Linked DNA regions of Homo sapiens: region 2 is linked to region 1. Evidence: promoter capture Hi-C in human tissues and cell types (Jung and others, 2019). All regions are on one chromosome and are shown on one strand. Each heading gives the region's core, a stretch centred on a gene start or on the middle of the fragment in contact. The rest is flanking DNA. Distances are from core to core; before and after follow the strand shown.

Region 1 (4,978 bases), core at 1,645-4,144:
TTTTTTAATAGCAGTGTTTTCAAATGAAGTGGGTTGTAACTAAATTTTTTTTAAATGAACGCAACAGATAAAATCAGAGTGCATTCATATGATATATTGTTTTGTAAATTACTATTTTACGTTATCTATCCTTGGTAGCAATGCAAAACACATTACTCAGTATGAGGCACATGCAAAAGTTTCATTGACAGTGGTTGTTTAACCTAATAAGCGGTTTGTGTGTGTGTGTGTGTGTTTTTTTTTTTTAAAGGATACTATTGCTGCTCCAACATATTGAGCTGATTCCATGTGGTGATGTGTGTGGGTTGAATTTATCCACCAATGTCATAGATGAAGCATCCCATATTTTAATATCATCTCCTGATGAAGCAAATCTGAGGTTTTCCTGCATGACTGCGCCTACAAATAGTTTAAAACAATGTATTTTAAAAACATTTAAGAATAGACATACTCAAAAAAAGGTCAAAATCTAATCTAAAACAAGTGGCTCTAACTCATTCATTTTTGTTCCAAACAGTGCAGTCACCAAAGCAGTTGAAGTGATTTTCCTAAAACATAAGCCAGGTCGCATTCTCTTAGCTGACCCTTCCAATGGCTCCTCACAGTAATGATAATGAAATCCAGCCTCCTTAGCCTGCCTTACATGTCCTGGCCCCCATGTAACTCTCCTCTTTCTTTTCACTGGCCTTCTCTCTGCCTCATGCAAAGGCAAAGTCATTCTCACCTCAGTGTCTTTTCATTTGCTGCTCCCTGTGCCTAAGATGTTCTCCCCAGATTCCCATGGTCATCTCCTTCTCATCATTCAGGTCTTAGCTCAAATGTTTCCTCCTATGAAAGGCCTTTCCTGACCACCCTGGCTAACGCAGTCCCTTCCTTACCTGGTAAGGGACTTAGCAGTTTACCCTATATCCCAATACCTGATTTCATTTTTTTCATAGCACTTCCTAATATCTGAATTTTTTTTTTTTTTTTTTGAGACGGAGTTTCACTCTTGTTGTCCAGGCTGGAGTGCAATGGTGTGATCTCGGCTCACCACAACCTCCGCCTTCCAGGTTCAAGTGATTCTCCTGCCTCAGCCTCCCGAGTAGCTGGGATTACCGGCATGCACCACCACACCCGGCTAATTTTGTATTTTTAGTAGAGACGGGGTTTCTCCATGTTGGTCAGGCTGGTCTCGAACTCCTGACCTCAGGTGATCTGCCCGCCTCAGCCTCCCAAAGTGTTGGGACCACAGGCGTGAGCCACCGTGCCCAGCCACTATCTGAAATTTTTATTTGTTCTTATAATGTCTGTCTCCCCACACCAGAGTCTTGAAACATTCCTGGCACACAGCAGTTTCACAACAAATAACTACTAATAAGTAACTTCCTAATTTTTAAAAAAAGTATGATAAACTAGCATTTCTGCAGGTCAGAATCCAGTCACACCAGTTTTTCCAAAACTCTAAAATTAGCAATATGGTCAAATGAGACGCCACTAAGTCCCTATACCAATACTTGGACTACGATGCCTTCAATCATTTATTCAGAGCATACAGCTGAAACACGTAATTCTAACAAGGTGATTTCACAAACCAAGGAAGTCTAGAAAACAGAAGGCAAAGAAGCTGCTCTAGACAGGCACTTTAAAGAGCAACAGGTAGTAATGAACGATAAGTGAGAAAAAAAGATGCTCAAAAGTACATGGGAGAAAAGGAAAGGGAGAGGGCACAGAATTATACCTCCCACACCTTCCTAGTATGGAAAGTGCAAGACTACTGCACAGCATTAGTGATGTCACAGGCAGGTCCCCGAGTCACCAATACAACAGCACACCTACGTCTAGTATAAGCCATTTCAGAGGACAAGTTAAAGACAGAATTATAGAAACGTTTCATTCTCGAGACAAAAAGTTAATGTAATTCACTCATGTGCTTCCTTATGCTCCATTCATCCGATACAGTGCTACTAAAAGCCATTAAAGTCACCTGCAGAGATGTAACACAATGTTTGGATTTGGAGCCTTAAACATGTGTAACACGTGCCCCCTTGGTTCCCAAGTCAAGGAACAACTAATGAATTGCTGGAAAAGCGAGCTCTAAGCCCTGTAAACCACAACTGCAAGCTGTGTCTAACTGCATCGTAACCAGGCCTGGTGAGCTGCGGGGTGTAGTGGGTAGATCACTGAGGCCTGGGCTCAGAAAAACTGGGTTCAAACGACCTGCTCCAACTTAGGAAACACAACTCGCCGGGTGATTTAATGTTTGTTTTCGGCTCTTAAAGCGGGGCGGGGAAGAGGACCATCTGCCCACCTACCTCGGTCTTCTAAGAACTGAGCATTAAGGGAGAGACTTTACATGAGTCCCTCAAAGACGGTCCCGTCGAAAGCTAGCAGTCAGGACACAAGGCGGTAACGTCGGCCTGGGTTTAGGGACAGCGGCTACAGGAACCAATTCAACTACACCACTCAGCTGAAATGAAAGTTCTCCAACTTTCAATCACCAAAAATACACTTTACTTGCAGGACAACAGCTCAAGTGAGGCTAACCTGTAAAATGCATCCAAGTACCTGCCAAAAGAAAAGTACTTGAGGTTGACAAAAAAGGAGACAGACTTGTGGAGACGAGGCAAACTTTTCGGAGGCAGCACACCCCACAAGGCTCCGGGAGGTGCGCGACCCCGGCCCGCGCCTCCCCGGACACTTCCCAGCCCAGCGCGCCGCCGCGCCCCCGCCCAGCAACCGCTCCGGGCGCGCAAAGCCCAAGGACCGCCGCCCCGCCCTCTGAGGGGGACGGAGCGGGTCTTAGGATCGGGAGGGTGCGCGGACGCGGCGGGCGGGGGCCCGCTGACCTCAGGGCCTCCGGAACCTCACCTCTCCGCAGCAACACAACAGGGGGCCGCGGCCGGCTCCGCGCTGGGCTTCCGGCTCCCGCCTGGACTGTTAAACTTCGGCGGCCGGAAGTCCCGCCCCGAGTGACGTCACGGGGCGAGGCGCTGCGTGCGGCTGTGGCTTCTGGCCGGACAGAAGTCGGGGTACAGAGGGTCTGGTCAGGGCGGCGCTGGGCAGCCGCGGGGGAAGTTATCCCAGTGTCAGGGCGGGAACTGCGGGCCGGGGCGGCCCTCTCCACGCCCCAGCGACGGAGCTCCGGCCACTGCCAACTGCTTGTCATTCACTTGCTGTTTACTGTGTGCCAGGCACTGTGCTAGACTCTTGAGTGTACAGTGATGGTTTAGCCTGGGGATACAGGGGTACAGTGAATTCTCGTGGTCCTTGGCCTTGTGGAGCTTACAATGCACTATAGGAAGCTGACGTTATTAGATGCTTAAATGGAAAGTGAAACTATGATAATGAAAGGTATAAGATGCACGAAGACCCATAATAAGGGAAACTATTGTGGATGTGGATTTAGGAAAGGATTCCTACATGCGATTTACAAGCCAGGAAACGCGCTCAGGCTGAGAAATAACCCAAAGAGTAGGCGTCTGCACTAACCTACTTCAAAACCCATGATCTTTCTTTCGCATCATGCTGCGAGGTCCGGAACATCAAACATCATCTGTTTGGGAATTCTTTTGAAGGGGATACTTCAAGGTGGAAAAGGAAGTTGCTGAGCCGAGTTTTCAAGTGCCCCTTCCAAAGGTCCTTTTATAGCTCTACTGACAATTTTTGCTAAGAATATTTATCATAAATATAGAGCATTTCTTCTGCAAAAAGTGTTATTCTTTCATCACAACTACATGGGGTGTGTTTCTGAACTAGGTACATCAGCCCCAGTTATCTGCATTCATATTGCAGATAATTGGAAAATTCTAATAAGTGCATTTTTTCAGAGCAGAAATTGAAATCGTAGCCAAGTTACTGAGGTTCATGGGGGAGTGGCAAAAGGAGAAAGATAGCAAGCAGCAACTACCTTAATTGTACAGTCTGCAGTTCTTGAGGCTATGAAATCCAATTTGGGCAGGGAGGAGGCCCAGAAAGTTGGGAACTAAGAAAGTACGGTAAGGGAGTGGGGGCAGGGAGAATGGGAGCAAATGGAGAAAAGAAAACTTCAAACAAAAAGGGCAATTAATTAAATCTCTGAAAATTGAAGCCAGCAGGAAAATTGAGACTAGACTATATGAAAATATATATAATAATACATGTAATATAATATATACATATTATATGATATAATACTAGTTATACATATAAAAATAGATATTTATTGAACACTTTACTAAGCACTGTATTTGTGTATATAGACGTAATGTGTATGTATGCAATATATATATAATTTCATCTTTCTAAAAACACATGAAGTATGTGCTATTATTTGTCCCCATTTTACATATGAGGAAATAGAGGTTAAGTAACTTGTCCAAGGTTACAAGTTTAATAAATGGTAGATTCAGAAGTTAAACCTGGGACCATGAGACTGCAAAGACTGTCCCAGACCTTTATGCTATACAGTCAAGAGCCATAACACAGCGTATAGGGCCAAATGGAAACCTCCATTCCTCTGTCCTCACTGATGCTGCGGCCTCATCAAATCTTACTGGCCCTGAAACAGTCCTGTCATTTTTGTCCGTGCCTCTGTGCCTATGTATACACTGTTTCCTCAGTTCTGTATAATAGTTTAACGAACAATAGATGCCAAATGTTAGAAGCCTTGCTAATATATGAATTATATAAACATATACAGATTTCCAAAAGTAGCCATCACAACAAAGAATATTTCTAGAGACAAAGAGAAATATTTCATAATGATAAAATGGTAAATAACCACAAGCCATTATCAATTTTAAGTGTATAGGTGAACGTAAGAGAATTTTGAAATATATGAAGAATAAGTATCAAAGCTAAAGGAGGAAAAAAGCATACCCATAGTCATTGTTGGAGACTGACAGAATTTTCTCAGTAATTCATAGAACATCCAGATAAGAAAAACAAATCAGAAAAGATGTGGAAGATCTGTACACTTATCAACTATTTTAACTGACATTTATAGAACACTATAGCC
Region 2 (4,978 bases), core at 744-3,243, 1.5 Mb before region 1:
CCTTCTAGCCTTCACATTTCTATAGTTGGTCTGTGTTTGGGATGGTGTTGAACAAAAATAGCATTGCTTTAGTCACTGGAGTCAAATCAGCAGGGCAAGATGTTTGTACTACCAGATCCATGAGGCAACTGAAGGCTGGTGGAGGAGCAAGGAAGGTGGGCCTTCACGTCTGTGGACTGTACTTTGGCATCACTGAGCTCTCAGCTTTGCTGAGGACAAGCCCAAGTGAGCTTGACGCTGGAGGAGTGATCATGTCTACATTCAGATGCCCCTAGCTATGCTGGTCTCAATGCATGTCAAATATTGAAGAGCGAGGATGAGGTGCTGGTGTTGAATTAGAGGAGAACAGTCAGCAGCAGAATAAATATTATTCACAAGGAGACACCGTCTGTGTTTGTCTCATGGGCCAAACAGGGGAATGGAGGAATGATTGGAGTGGTGGGAAGATTGCATAAGGCTGAATTCTAATCGGTTTAACTTACTTAAGATGTGACATTAGTGTAAAAGTAGAGAGAGAGGAACTCATATAAGTATGTCTGGGTTTGTTAGGAGGAGAGGATTTGCAGAAACAGAGGTGCATTTGGAAGAGACATGGTGGTGGAGGATTGTGCTAAGTAGGATAGGATTTTGGGCTCAGTCTTCTAGTGTGACAGGTGTCTTTGCATATGCCTGACCAGGGGATTCTCCTTTAAAGAGAAAAGTTTTAGGGAGATTAAATATGACAATTATGTGTATGCTAGTTTGGAGGGGGGCTCAAAACTAGATCCTGGGACCCCAGTTGGAGGTTGATATGATTTGGATCTGCATCATCCCCAATGTTTGGAGGTGGAGCCTGGTAGGAGGTGATTGGATCATGGAGGCAGAGTCTTCATGAATGGTTTAGCACCATCCCCTCAGTGCTCTTCTCATGATAGTGAGTGAGTTCTCACAAGATCTGGTTGTTTCAAAGTGTGTGGCGCCTCTCCCTACCCTCTCTCTTCCTCCTGCTCTGGCCATGTAAATTACTGGCTCTTTCTTTGCCTTCTGCTGTAATTGGAAGCTTCCTGAGGCCTCTCCCAAAGCAGATGCTGCCATGCTTCCTCTACAGTCTGTGGAACTGTGAGCCAATTAAACTTCTTTTCTTATAAATTACATAGTCTCAGGTATTTCTTTATAGCAATGCGACTAATACAGAGGTGGTGGCAAAAGTCTGTTGAGAGGCAATAAAAGCCTGGAAATGATGATGAAAATGAAGGGGAATGAGCACAAAGAGAGGTGTTATGAAGAATCGGTGGGCTTCACAAGCCTGAAAGCCACTGGGAAAAATGATATCAACATCACACCAACTCCAAAAGAAATGCAGACTCCCCTCTCTCTCTTTCCCTAGTCTATGTAACTGGCATCTTTTATCGGGGTTGAAGGAAATCATTAATATCCTACTTCTGATTCTTCTCCTAGTTAAAAATCAATTGAGGAAAAAAAATGTAGAATTTAGATGAAGGCAAAATATTGGATTTTCTGCTGCTAGCAGTGGACTGGAGGACACAGTTTTGAACCATTGCCACACAGGGTTTCTATCCTTTTTTCTTAAGCTGAGATGTTGGGACAACCCACCATGGGGAGAGTCTGGGTCAGTGATTGCTCTGGCCAACTGTGGGGTCCCCGATGGTGTGGACGGAGAGGCTACATGTGAAGGAGGCATGTGATGTAACCCATCTGGGGAGTAAATGTGGATTCCTCCCACTCATCCAAGCAGATGTCTGGATTCTCCACGTTTGGGAAGTAAGAAAGGGGTGGGAGGGGTCAGGAGTTGTACTCTGTGGGAAGGACACAGTAACATGCAGAAATGCAAGGAGAAGGAAACGAACTTACCTTCACATTGCTGGACATGATTAAAGGTGAGAATAGAATTGGAAATAAAATTTGTGGGCTCATTAAATAAATAACCCTGTGGGTTATTTAATGAACAGGTTTTGTTCCTTTGGAGGGCAGAAGTGAAATTGCTTACCAGCAATCCTGGGAGGAAACAGAGGATTGGTGACTGGTGTTGAAGAAGTGGCCTCATGAGGGTGTCTGGGTTAACCACCGGCGACTCCACCATGGGGACTCCACACCCTGCATTCAGTCTTAGTTGGCCACAGCCTGGATGCTTCAGCCTGTTGAACTGAGAAAACAATATCTTTGGAGTCATAAAAAAATCATTTTCTTTCTCTTTTGTTTTGTTTTGTTTTTTCTGCCTTGATCCATGAAGTAGGAATTTCCACCTTATGAAGAATGGAAGACTTGGGAGGAAAGCCCCTGTCCTTTTACCCTGTCCCTACCCTGGCTGGGAAGAAGGTCATGGGGTGTGGAGTTCAGCCCCTCTGGGTCTCTCTTTCCCAGCAACCTGTCCTCAGCACTTGTCCCCTCCTTGCCCCTCTGTCTCTTAGATTCAGTAGGGCTGCTCTGCTCTTTGGAGCTAGGGGAGGCCTGGCCTCCTTGTTGGCAAATCAGTTCTGGTCATGGGTCAAGGCAAATTCTCCAAGGCAGCCTTTTTGGAAACATAGCTGATCATTTCAGCTCTGTAGATCTGAGTCTGTCTCCTCAATGGGTTCAGAACCCGTAAGGGAAGAGGTGTGACTAATTAGCATTATCCCTTAAATTCTAACATTCTTTTTGAGGAAAAATCCTAATTTTGAGATTCTTTGGAATCATCTTTCCTTCTCCCGACCTTTCTTTTTCAAATACATTTACCAAATGGAATGACCACTGTGTGTTTGGCACTTAGGTTAAGTGTTTTGTCTTTTCTCTTAAATAGCTATGATTGGCTCTAATGCAGTGTCTAGGCAGTGTCTTGCCACAGGCAGCTCAAATGGACACATGTGCCACAGATATATAAGACACTTGTAGAACACACTTGAATTCCAGGGTGTATGAAGAACTCTGTAGGTCGTAGCAGTATATGGTCATATGAGTGTGTGTTCATGCATATACACACCTACCACATGCACACACTACCACATGCATGCACACCTACCACACATACAAACCATGCATACCCCCCACCACATGCATGAACACACACCCTATATACTTATACACCACACACAGACAACACACAACCACACACACACACACACACACACACTACCATATGCATGTACACCTACAAAGCCATACATGCATGTATGCATGTGCACATACAAACCACGCATACCTCCCCACCACATGTGTGAACACACACCATACTCATACACTGCATACAGACAACACACAGAAACACCATGTGCACACACTACCATATGCATGCACACCTACCACACATACAAACCATGCACACCCCCACATGCACATAAACACACCATATATACTCATACACTACACACAGACAACACACACAAACACAGACACACATGTATCATACATGCACCGCTGCATCACACACCCTCCAACACACCTAGACACCATGCATACACACATACCACACACAAACTACACACGTACAGACCATTCACACAAACACTCCCTACTCCATCTTACACACATGTGCATATGCACATACCACAAGCATATGGATGTAACCCCAGGGCCTCTGCAGAGAGAGCTGTGGAAAGCTCCAAGACACATTCTGTCTCCCACTCTTAATCTCTCTCTCCATCCCTCTCCTTTTCTCTCTTAATCCTGGGGTGTATATATAAAAGACTACACAAAGCACACACACAGAAACAGAGCAAACCTCTGGACTCATGGAAAAACAACTGCCAACAATCTGGGCAGCTAAGGCTTTGTGCATAACACCCTACTCCTGAGGGCCCCCTCCCCTCCCACAGGAACACACTCTGACAAAAAAGCACCTGCCCCTAAGCCAGGCGTCTTTCTTTCCTTTTGCCTTTGATTAAGTCTCACAATAAATGGCACACCAAGGGGTGCAGCATTACGGTGTCATTAAAGTGAATATTTCACAAGTGAGTATTGCCTGAACGAGATGCTTCTGATGTTTTTATTTTCATCAAATCTTTGAGGCCAGCAGATGGAAAAAAATTTTTGTAGCCAGAGCTTAAGGAGGTAGGCTTCACCAGAGAAGCAGGGTGGTCAGGCTACAGTGAGCCCTGACCCAATTTCCTTAAGAAAAGGGAAAAGAGTCAAAGTGCTCGATGTGTAATCAATAAGCAGGGCACATAGGATGAAACACACACACTCCCCCACACACACACACATGCACAGAAGGATATTTCTACCTCAGTTCTTTTTAAAGTAAAAAAATGGTGGGAATACAGTTTACTCTAAAGGAACCCTTTGAATGTGTATCATTTAGTGAATTTGGAGCTTTCCACACCAAGTGCATTTGCTAAAAATGGTCACTGCCCATAGATGAGACATCATCCCATTGCTAATGTCATTAGCAAGCAGAACAGCGGTGCCTACAAAGCTCAGAGCAGAGAAGTGATACCCGGGGGAACCACACAATGCCAAATAAATGTGAGATGATTGACTGTTTTCATCACTACCTCCGCAGCAGGGTGGGAGCCCATTTGTAAGGGGCTGCCTTGTGCCTATGGGGAGGAGGACCATCAGACAATCCTGTTGCGGTTTCTATTGTCCTCAAAGACACGTCTTCTCCAGGAACAAAGCCCTGGGTCACACCGTTTGTCCTGTAGAAACTCCTGATAAATTTTGCTTTTTAGAAAAGCCTCTTTTCTTTGATTAGCAGTAATAAAAGCTTTCCCTTCGAAATATATGCCCTTACACATTAAAAGCCTGAGATGAAAAATTCTTTGTCATTTGCAAAGAATAGTGTCTCTTTGTGACTTGTTATCTGTTGAACTGGATGTTATAAAGTCTGTCTGAGGGCTCTGATAGCAGCTAGAATATTCTGCCTTGTGTGGCAGACATGTTTGAAGGCATAATTATGGGGTGTGGGTTGGGGTGACCAGCACATTCTCCCAGCCCTACCAGATAGTCGATGGGTTTTGTGTATTCAGGAAACTTCCCCTTCTTTATACTGTTTGAATGGAAATGG

The links. Contacts are between HindIII fragments. The study calls those that stand out against the background at their distance.
Region 2: a fragment that was not itself captured here is called in contact with the fragment with the promoter of NEDD1 in region 1 in 1 of the 25 tissues and cell types used here (dorsolateral prefrontal cortex).

What each region holds. Positions count from the first base shown.
Region 1 is chr12:96,905,173-96,910,150 of GRCh38, reverse strand. It overlaps NEDD1 (NEDD1 gamma-tubulin ring complex targeting factor), which reads right to left and starts at 2,894. Exons shown (of 16, transcript NM_152905.4): 1 at 2,851-2,894; 2 at 2,295-2,547; 3 at 256-399. The coding sequence starts at 391. RefSeq lists enhancers at 2,072-2,211, 2,252-2,341 and a silencer at 2,582-2,861. The HindIII fragment of the contact is 14,202 bases long and covers 1-4,978 here.
Region 2 is chr12:98,359,534-98,364,511 of GRCh38, reverse strand. No RefSeq gene overlaps it. Among named protein-coding and RNA genes, the nearest start is that of TRD-GTC1-1, 140 kb to the left of the region's middle. The HindIII fragment of the contact is 6,943 bases long and covers 1-4,978 here.